Linked DNA regions of Homo sapiens: regions 2 and 3 are each linked to region 1. Evidence: promoter capture Hi-C in 16 types of primary human blood cells and fetal thymus (Javierre and others, 2016). All regions are on one chromosome and are shown on one strand. Each heading gives the region's core, a stretch centred on a gene start or on the middle of the fragment in contact. The rest is flanking DNA. Distances are from core to core; before and after follow the strand shown.

Evidence for each region. Contacts are between HindIII fragments. The CHiCAGO score rates a contact against its expected background, and 5 or more counts as called.
Region 2: a fragment that was not itself captured here is called in contact with the fragment with the promoter of DOK6 in region 1 in 1 of 17 cell types (non-activated CD4 T cells); the score reaches 5.1 in non-activated CD4 T cells.
Region 3: a fragment that was not itself captured here is called in contact with the fragment with the promoter of DOK6 in region 1 in 1 of 17 cell types (total CD4 T cells); the score reaches 5.6 in total CD4 T cells.

What each region holds. Positions count from the first base shown.
Region 1 is chr18:69,399,590-69,403,128 of GRCh38, reverse strand. DOK6 (docking protein 6) reads right to left here and starts at 2,241. Exons shown (of 8, transcript NM_152721.6): 1 at 1,819-2,241. The coding sequence starts at 1,884. The HindIII fragment of the contact is 5,350 bases long and covers 1,827-3,539 here.
Region 2 is chr18:70,067,304-70,070,768 of GRCh38, reverse strand. All of the region lies in intron 34 of RTTN (rotatin), which reads left to right. Among named protein-coding and RNA genes, the nearest start is that of CD226, 120 kb to the right of the region's middle. The HindIII fragment of the contact is 277 bases long and covers 1,843-2,119 here.
Region 3 is chr18:70,083,372-70,086,828 of GRCh38, reverse strand. It overlaps RTTN (rotatin), which reads left to right. Exons shown (of 49, transcript NM_173630.4): 32 at 145-216. Among named protein-coding and RNA genes, the nearest start is that of RTTN, 120 kb to the left of the region's middle. The HindIII fragment of the contact is 2,516 bases long and covers 535-3,050 here.

The DNA of each region.
Region 1 (3,539 bases), core at 992-3,491:
TCCATTAGTTTATATAGTCTGAGGCATCAGATACAATTGCGATTTCAAGAAGATCAAAGGCCGAGAAAAATGATCAAGCATCCAGTCGTAAAGCAAAGGGCTTCAAAGGTCAAGCTAAGAAGACGACTCCCTTCCACCTCCAGCTCTGCACCTCCCTTGGCTGACAGCTGTGTGGTGACAGACTTGAGCATTCCGTCCCGGCTGCGAGGAACAACCAGACTCCTGGAGAACCGCAGCTTTTCCCGTGGGTTCGTCCTTATATGCCTGGAAAAGAATGAGGCGCTTTCTTCTACCCAAGAAAAGCCCTTGAAACCTGGCCGAGGATCTGACTCTGGCGCCTGCTCTCTCTCGCCTTGGTGGGGCTCACGGCAGCGCACGTTGGCTCCAGGCTGGAGGAAGGGGGGCGTTGCTGTCACCCAGCTCCGCACTCGCTCTTGCAGCCTCCCAGCCTACTACAGAGCTGCTGAAGTTCCAGAATGGGCCCCTGTTGTCCTTGGGGTACAGTCTGCACCTTTAATGCGAAACCCAGCAGAGGCAGCACCAAGAGTCAAGTCTGCCTTTCCCGTCCTCCTGTCCCCAACACCTGGCGCCGCCAACTCCCGACAAAGCGACTCCTGGTGCTTGGTGATCTGCCCTCTTTCGGGGATTCTACCTTATCTTTCTTCCACTCTCTAACACTACCCTTCTTTTGCTTTCTTTTTTACACAAAAATTAGCAAAGTCCTCCCCTCTTTTTCCCCTTCTCCAAGTTGGAGGATTCATCCAGTCATCAGGGAACACAGGAAAGGTTCTAGCTCAAGGACCCTTTGCCCCGGGAGGCAGGAGCTTGGTAGAACTGGAAGTTGGAGAACAGTGAGGTAGACACAACCAGAGTCTGGAACAGGGGCCCTTTCTTTCCCAGACGAGTTTCCCCTCGCTTTTCTGGACCAGCCAGCCGGGGTCAGCCTCCCAGGCCACCCTACATCGCGCGCTCCCCAGGGACCTCCTGCCCATCCCTCCATCCTCTCTCTCGCGTCCCAAGTCTAGGCTGCTCCCGCCCAGGTGACAGCCCCTCCTGTCCCGCTGCCTCCCGTGAGTCCCTCCTACCGCCTCGTCTGGTCACTAGAATAGTTTTGAACCCTTGGGTTCTACACGGTTTCCCTCCCAAGCCAGGCAGCGCATCTCTCAAGAATAGGGAAAGGTCTCCATCAACTTTGCCGTCACGGAGCAGTGACCGCGGGCGGGCGCGGGGCACACACCTGCCTGCACGCGGGCGCGGGTCCCCGGGTAGGGGAGCACTTGCGGGGCGCGGGAGCCGCCCTCGGCCACGGCGAAGGCGCCCTAAACTACAGCCGGCAGGGACGCGCGGCGCTGGGAGGGCATCAGACGGGAATTTCGAATTGAGCTTGGGAAGCGGAGACCAGAAAATGGTGATTCTAAACACACGCGAGCGTCGCCACACACAGCAGTTCCACCCGAAAGGCGCACACTTTTGAGAACAGACCATCGTGGATAGCACCGCAAAGAAACCTCCTCCAAGGCACGTTCCTCGTTGGAACTGACAACCCCTTTCGTCTACTGACTTCCCCGCACGGTCGAAGACAGCCCGGTGCACTCGAGGATGGGGACTCAGGCGCTCCTGGAGTCCCCAGGTCCGTCTGCGGAGCCCCCCGGCAGGTGTGGGCCCCCACCTGGCCAAGCAACAAGCGGGCCATCCGCCTAAGGGCCGGGTCCCTCTCTGCCCTGTACCCGCACGGGTCACCTCTCCCTGCCCCCCCCCCAGGCAGCCAGCCGGGCCGAACGAGCGCCGGGGAAGGAGCAAGCCGAGCGAGCCACTCACCCCAAGCTTCCTGCTGCGGATTTTCACGTAGCCCTGCTTGACTATGTCGTTAAAGTTGGAGGCCATGGCCAGCGCGATCGGGCTCCTGCGCCCCGCGATCCGCTCTCCGGAGTCGAGAGCCGCCGTCCGCCGCCGGGTCTGCGCGGGTCTCGCATCCAGCCGGCCGCCGCCAGCAGCAGCGCCGCCGCCCGCTCTTCCCCGAGCTCCCGCCGGTGGGGACGCGGGGTCGCCTGCAGGGCCGCCGCGGACGGGGAACGGGGCCCGGCGCCGCGAGCCGCGCCAGCCCTCCGCGTTCTGGCGCTCACCTTCGCTCCCCGCCGCGAGCCCAGCGCCGCGGCCCGCGCCTCCGCCAGCTGCGGGAGCCCCCACCGCGCCGCCGCCCCCGGCAGCACCCACGGGCTGGCGCCTCGCTCGGCGGCGCACAGCTGGCCGGAGCGCACCACCGCGGCTCCCCGGCGCGGGGGGAGGGGGCGGGCCGGGGGGGGCGGGCTGATGCGCCGGCCCCGCTCCCTCCCCCTGGCCCGTGGGGTGGCTGGGCTCGGAGACGCTCGCAAGACGCGCTCCATCCCTCTCCGCGCGGGTGGGAGCGCCTCCGCCGCCGGGCGCCCCGAGGCCCGCTCCCCACCCGGCTCCCCGGTCCCTCAGCGCTCCCCGGGCGCGAGATTCCTAAGGACACGGCGCCTCATTCCCGGGCTCTAAATCTCCACTCGCAAGCTGTGCAGCGGGGAAAGGGCAGTGGGGACACTTCCAACGCGGAAGGCCAGCGGGAGCGAGACACTTATTTCATTGGCCTTGTTTACAGTACATTTTTATTCCCAAGCACTCGCGGCCGTTCCAGGTCTCTGCCCCGTTAGGAAGTGTAAATCGACGCCAGACCCTTCCTGGTGCACACAAAGAGACCAATCGTGCGCATGTGTCTAATCCTCCCGCAGCCTAGAGACAGGCAGGCGGGCGAGGCAGCCGGGCGCCGACGTCCTCTGCTGAAGGAGTGGAGAAGACCGACCGACCCGAGTGGTTGATTTATGCATGCGTTTTCGTTAACTAGGACTGAAAGTGGCTCCTGGCTCTTCTGGGAAAATGGAGAACGTGGTTGTTATCAATGGATACCAATGACTTCCTGAAATGCTCAACTTGTACAAACAAAAAATGAAAAACTTTCTCCCCTTAATGTAGAAACACATGGCATTTTAAAAGTAGGTTTTTCATTATTGTAAAGATGTTTTAATTTTTAGGATTATGTTTTTGTGAAAGATTCGAGGAAAAAGAGCGATGTTGAGTTTTGGCCGGAGGCAACATATGGATTTTTACTATAGGCTAGAACATTTAGTACTTACTTCTAAGGATGTTTCTAATTAGTAAAATGTATAAAGATTGACAATTTTTAAGGTGACTCCTGCAAGAGTTATATTTAGTAAAAGTTCAAAAGATGATGTTTGTTTATTACGGTGAGCAGTATTTTTCCAGGTTCTCATTTAAAATTTCCTACCCCATTTGAAACACAATAATAGAAAGAAAGGAAACTTACTTGAATGAGGTTGTGGGGGGAATGTAAAAACTTGAAGGACAAGGTAGCTCAGTCCAACCAGATGAGCATCCAAGGGAGATTTTTGTCTCATCCTTTGCAGAAATCTCCATCTAGAGCCCGTGTAAACCAATGGAAATTCTTACTTGCTTTAACAGCACACTATTCCTATTCATTCATTAATGTGGGCTAGCCTTTT
Region 2 (3,465 bases), core at 732-3,231, 670 kb before region 1:
CATTCAGAAAATGCAAGAGGTTGTTTGGAGTAGAATGTGGGACGGAAAGCTAAAGTTTGATGACCTGACTAATCAGATAGGAGTTAGTTAAGAAAGCTGAATCAGCTTTTGGATTTGAAGAGGTAAGATATAAGAGCTATAAAGATAAAGATGTAAGGATATTTCAGCAGCATGGAATGGCATGAAACATTACAACTGATATGAGAGAAATAACGTATTGACACTCATTTGATGGTAGTTAAAATTGTTTTATAGAAGGAAGAGTAGACAGAGGATAGTTTAAGCAGGGATGGATCCAAGAGGCTTTCTAAAAGAAAAATAGTTTTGACATAGGCATCACTGATAGGACATACAAATACCTCCAGCATGGTGACCCCAGGAAAACTTGAGGAGGTGGTAGTTTGTGTGATGATGGAGAGAGAAAGAAAATGTTATACTCTGTTTAAATAAATTTCAGCTACCTGTGGATTATCCAGAGTCTAACAACCTCTTATATTTAGTTAGGAGGAAAATACAAGTGAGACAAGCTCTTGGAAATTTGTGCTCTTAGATTACACACAGGATGGCACAGGAACTGTGACTGTGTTGTGGTGATGATCTGTCTCTTTAAGTGGTCCTTTGGTTAGACATGCAAGAATCGTCTATCATCTTCTGCTCATTCCTTCAGAGGACTTTTCTGAGCTTTCTTTTTTTTACATATATTGTACATAATCCATTTGAATTATGAATCTATTAGTTGAAATAATTTAAACTTCTTGTTATAATTTGGTTAGAATTAATGATTACAAATTGAGAAGCATGCCAAAGCTTTCCTGCTCCTGGGCATATAGAGAAAGGTATTATTTATTAAAATGAACACATGAAGCTTAGAATCTCTTAGAAACCCTTCATATCTTATATTTTTCCATGTTTTCAAAATGTGGCTAGACTTGTACTTTATTTTTTTCACACTACAATCCTTATTTTCTCCCTTTGTACCTTTTTAAAAACAATTAAATAAACTTTTTTGGCACCAGTACTGCTTTTGAGGGAAGTTGATGGAACTATTACAAGATCATTTTGGCAAATACAATATTCAAGTTCTGAATTAACTTTCAAAAAAAGTTAAAGTGTCTAGTGAAATCACTTGCTTCTGTAAGGCAGATACAAAGAAAATCATTTTTGTACATTGATGCATTTTTGCTTATATGACAGAAATTGTTTTTTACATTCCAGTTCTACTTGGATATGGCAAATGACTCTGCTATTTTCAGTGATTTCAAAGGGACTTTCTTAATTTTAGCTGCTTATTTTACACTGAAGCATAATTTAGAAACCTTCTTTAGTTACCAAATCTGCTTACAAACACACTGAAGAACAATTTTTTTCAGTTTTTATAAGCAAGATTTGAGTCCATTTTATTTTTTTATTTTCCCCTAGTTTTGAGCTAAAATGACAAATAAAATTGTATATATTTGAGATATACAGTGAGATTACTTGACATATGTATATGTGATGAAATGATTACCACAGTCAAATTAGTTAACACATCTGTCACCTAAGAGTCAACCTTTTTTTTTTGTGGTGAGAACACTTAAGAACTACTCTCTTTCAAGTAGACTGTGCAGTGTTATTAACCATATTAACCATATTCACCATGCTACACATTAGACCATATTAACCATATTCACCATGCTACACATTAGATCCCCAGAACATACTCATCTTATCTGAAAGTTTGCACTCTTTGACCAAACATCTCCCCTTTTCCCCAGCTCCTATCCCCTAGCAACATCCATTACACTAATCTGAGTCTGTTTTAGGACAGTACCTTTAAGTAGCATCAGCCTGCTCTAAAAAGCTTGTATTGTCTTTTGTAATATCTGTAAAGTAATAAGGCTAGAAATATATTCAAATTCAGATTTTTTTGTCTTACCGAGGGATTATAAATTGAAGATCTCAGGATATGTCATGTGGCAGATGTGAAAGCGAGGGAAAAGTCTAGATTGTGATTTTGCACTTAGACCATTCTAATGAATTGAGCAAGTGATAGATACAAGAATTAGACTCTCGCTGTTGTAAGAGGACAACCCTAGTTATCCTACTTACTGTGAGGTACAGAGCAGAGCAGCGAGAAGCTTGACAGGAACGGATGACTTCAGCAGACTAAGTTTGCTCTTAAACTAAGCCAATTCCTCCTCCTTCACCTGGGATGGGGCAGCTGAAGTTAGTCTAGCTGAAGTTCCGCGGGGACACAGGGGGATCAGGGAGAAAGAAGCAAGCCTCTCCTCGCAAACAAGGCCAGCCAGCTTTCTCAAGAGGTACGTCTGAGGACTTCCTCTGATTCTAACGAATTTATGCTGTCATGAATGCAGTTCTGGACTGAGAATCCTAGTCTCAACTCAGACAAATCCCTTAACTTGTGGTCCTTTTCTCTAAATGAGGACGTGGACTAGGTCAGGCTTTTTGTACCTATAGCTTCGTAGGCTCATACTGCACCTTCCAGTAGCTAATACTTAATGCCAAAATTGTCTAGTTATTACTTGGATTTTAAGGTGAAAAGTAACATGTTTACATATCGATGTACTTTATCAAATGTAACCAAATACTATCGATTGGAGATTATATCTAAACAAGCAAAGATTTGAGCATAGAACTGGGACAATTTGCTTTAATACTTTTTTGCTTTTAGTTATTAAAATAGCAATATATTAGTTTAGCACACTTAAAAAATAGAGGCTAGTAGAAATATAAATCATCCATAATCAATTTTAAAGCACCATATAAAGCAATCATTGTGTTTCCCCAACCACATGGGGTAAGTTATAATACAATAAGGTACTTTCTAAAAGCATCTTTTCTAAACTTGTGTATCCCTTCTGTGGACTATACTAAGGAAAATCACATCTTTATTAATGCCTGACCTTTGTCATGAATCACAACTTTGCTTTCTTCTAATGAGCCAGGTATTTAGTGGGCCCTTATAAGCTTTCTTTTCCCACACCGATCGTTGAAACCGCAAACCAGGTACCTATTCTATTTATATCAGTAATAAGGCCTTCTTGAGTCTTTATCAGTTGAAAGAATGTTCAGTGAAATGATAAAGGATTTCAGCATCATTATCCCCTTAACTTTTCTTATACAACCAAAAGAGTTGTGGCAGGAGCCAGATATATTAGCTTGTGCATAGTTTGTGATATCAGTCTTGGCATAGGATTATTTTCTTCACAGAACTATAAATGTTGTCTTGATATCTGTTGACAGGAACATTTTTTCACATATCTCTCATTGCCAAATTGTAGGCAAATATATTTTTAAAAATAAACAAGCTTGCTGGGCGCGGTGGCTCACGCCTGTAATCCCAGCACTTTGGGAGGCAGAGGCGGGCGGATCACGAGGTCAGGAGATCGAGACCATCCTGGCTAACACAGTGAAACCCTGCCTCTACTAAAAATACAAAAAATTAGCCGGGCGTGGTGGCGGGCG
Region 3 (3,457 bases), core at 543-3,042, 680 kb before region 1:
CCTCTCAGCATGTGCAGTTGACCAGAGATGTCTTTTGCTATTAATTACAATATATTGGTTATTTCAGAGATGACCACAAGATGGCAGTATTGACCTTTTTTTTTTTTTTTTTTTTTTTTTTTTTTTTTTTTTTTACATTTTCAGGCGGCATTTATTCTTCAGAATCTCCTTGTAATTCCAATGCCTACAGAAATTATAAAGGATTATACTTGGCAGGTGGGTGATTTTAAACAATTATCAACCTAGTAGATGTTTCAAATTAATTGGTGATAAATTTTCAGTATAAGTAGTATATTTCATTATTGATGAAACTATATACAAGACAGCAAGGGCCTCTTAAAATAGAACGTAGAATTTGTTCTTATGCCGACCAGACTTAAAAATTCTTCTCTATAGTGTTCACAATAATTTAAAGCAAATAATAATAGTTAACATATGTTTACTATGTTTTAGGCACCCTTCTAGAAATGTAAGACATAGTAACTTGTATAATTGTTTGAGTTGTGAACTGTTACTATCCTTATTTTCTAAGCTTAGGAACTTTTGCATAGAGAGTTTAAATAGTTTGTCCTAAATCACACAGCTAGTCAGTGGTACGCCTTTGCTTTGAGTCTAGGCAGTCTCTTACCCACTTTGCTGTATTACTTCTCTAATTTAGTAATAATAAACAAATTTGTAGATAGTTAAATATGTGTTGATGTTAACATCTTTTTTTCCTTTTCTAGGTTAGTGCACAGTGCGGGTTATAGTGTATCTTGCTTTGTTTTCTGTTGGGTTAACTTTCTTTTTCATGTTCTGAATATCACATCAGTAAATGGTTACCTAACATTTTTATAGCTTACATTAAAAAAATTCTAGCTTCATGGGATATATGTACATGTTTGTTACATAAGTATATTGCGTAATGGTGGTGGGGATTGGGGTTCTCGTGTACTCATTACCCAAATATTGAACATTGTACCCAGTTAGGTAATTTATAACCTCAGCCGCCTCCCCCACTCCCTCCTTGGGAGTCTCAGTGTCTGTTATGTCTGTCTTTATGTCCATGTGTATTCATTGGTTAGCTCCCACTTATACGTGAGAACACGCAATATTTGATTTTCTATTTTTGAGTTAGTTCACTTAGATAATGGCCTCCACCTCCATCCATGTTGCTGCAGTTTTAGGTAATTTGGAAGATACAAAAGTACACTTATTGGGGATATAAGATGTGCTGTTTCTGTCCTTTTACCTATCCATATATTTTCACCTTATAGGGATATATTTATCATATTGCTACACCTCACTCCTCAAAATCCTGTATAAATCTAAGGTTTATTTTTAAGTTTTAATTAGACTATACTCTTAGAGGAGTTAGTGAAACAAGCTGAACCGTAGCAAGGGCAAGTTTCCGCACATGACCCGAAGCATGAATCCAGGTGGTTGTCAAGGCCCAGGTAGCATTTAACTCTTGGAAGGCTTACCTCTCCAAACTTTACAAACCCAGGGTAACCCTACCAGTCATTGTAAATCCCAGGCTTGTAATTTGCTCGTAATTTCTTTAACATTGCCTTCTGATAATGGCTGCTTATCTACTTTCCATGTTGTAATAAAACCAGGAGACAAAACTGGAGGGAATATGCAGGATTAATAGTTATATTAATAGTGTAGTAGTTTTGGTACCTGTTATCCGGAGACTACATTTTAAAACATGTTGTTTTTGGCTCAAATACAAATAATCTCTACTCCCATTGTTAAACTAGTGACCCATGTACATGGATATACTTGGTGATGTACTACCAATGAATTTTTAATTATTGAAATAAGTATAAAGGCAGAGTATATTAAAGTTCCTGGGACATTATGTTGTAATACAGAACCGTATGTAGCTGTTCATATTTTTCTCTTAGAAATTAAATAGTAAAGTTCCTGTTTGTTGCTGGTGGCATGCTTACTGCAGTTTATTGGTTTTGTTATTCTCCAGTCTTCATCATGGAAATCCTTTTCTACTAAAAAGTGGAAAATAGTGATTTAAGTTAGCTTTTGGAGTTTTGGCCTTGCTAAGTTGGCCAAAATAAAAAAAGTTGGAGAGCCACTGCTGTCCCAAACAATAGTTGATTACAACTTTTGCTAGTCTTAGGAAAAATTAGATAAATAAGGACAATCTTGTATGCTTTTTAATAAACTCAGATTTTCTTCCTCTCTTTTCAGTCTTTTTTTTTTTTTGGTTATTTTTGTTTGTGTAAGTGTCCTTCCTTGGCAGTGAAAATAGTTAACTCAGTATATCTGTCATCCAATTTTAAGAAAGTTTAGTGGGGTCTGAAATTCCAAAGTAGAAACAGCTTCTGCAAGAAGGAAACAAGATGGTTGTCTCTGGGTGCAGCTAGTGGGGCACATGGTCCTTTGCAACCATGAAAAAGGGGCCACATAGCCAGTATTTTAAAATTCAAACAGTCTTTGGTAGAATTATGAATAATAATCTTATTCAACAAAATGTTTCATTTACTTATTTTAGTGTCCCTTTCATAGTGTTGTGGAGGATATAGCATGAAACAGCATGTTTAGGAGCTTTGTTAAAATTTTATTTTGGTTGAGGTAAATATTTGATTTTTTTTTTTTAACAAAGAGAATTGCTTCTATTGCTTTGCACTTTGTTTTCCTGCCTGCAGTCTAAATTAATGCCCGCTAGTGCTCTTGTTTCATAGGCTTTCTGAAGCATTCTCTTTATAATTACTACTCCTTTTCCTCTCCTTCCTCTGCACAGTAGCATAAATTCCTACTTCATGTCATGACATAGAATTGTTGTACTTGTGAATAGTAATAATATGCATATATGAATTATGAATAATATTATAGCTGAGTTTCCCTTTTATTGTTAGATGCCAGAAAGTAGAGCCCTTTTATCAATTGTGACTTTTTCTGTATGTACTTAAAAAAAAAAAAAGATGGGGTCTCACTGTGTTGTCCAGGCTGGCCTTGAGTTCCTGGGCTCAAGTGATACGCTTGCCTCAGCCTCCTGAGTAGCTGGGACCCCAGGCACATGCTGCCACACCCAGCTTACCTTCTAAGCTTTATTCATGGTTGCACTTTTTCCATATCTCTGGCTTTTTTCTTTCTTTTATTCCTGATATGCATTTACTATCATGTTACAATTTACCTTTCCTTGTAATGGGCCTTAAATCTTTTCTCGGACAAGATAGGAAGTAAATAATTTAAAACAATTTATTTTTTTAAAGTATTAAATAATTTTACCAACCACTGCAATTCCCATTTTAATCTTCCTTTTAAAGACACTAACATTTAATGTCTTACCACTAAATTAGGTTATTTTCCATATTTGCATTATTTCTTACCATTTAACTTAATCTTCCTGTGTAGAATGTTTGTTTCTGACAGGACTACATTTTTTATATTTTAAAAAATGTTTCTCCCAACCCCTACCACAGAGAAAGTAAGTGCTCCATCTGTCTTGACTGAT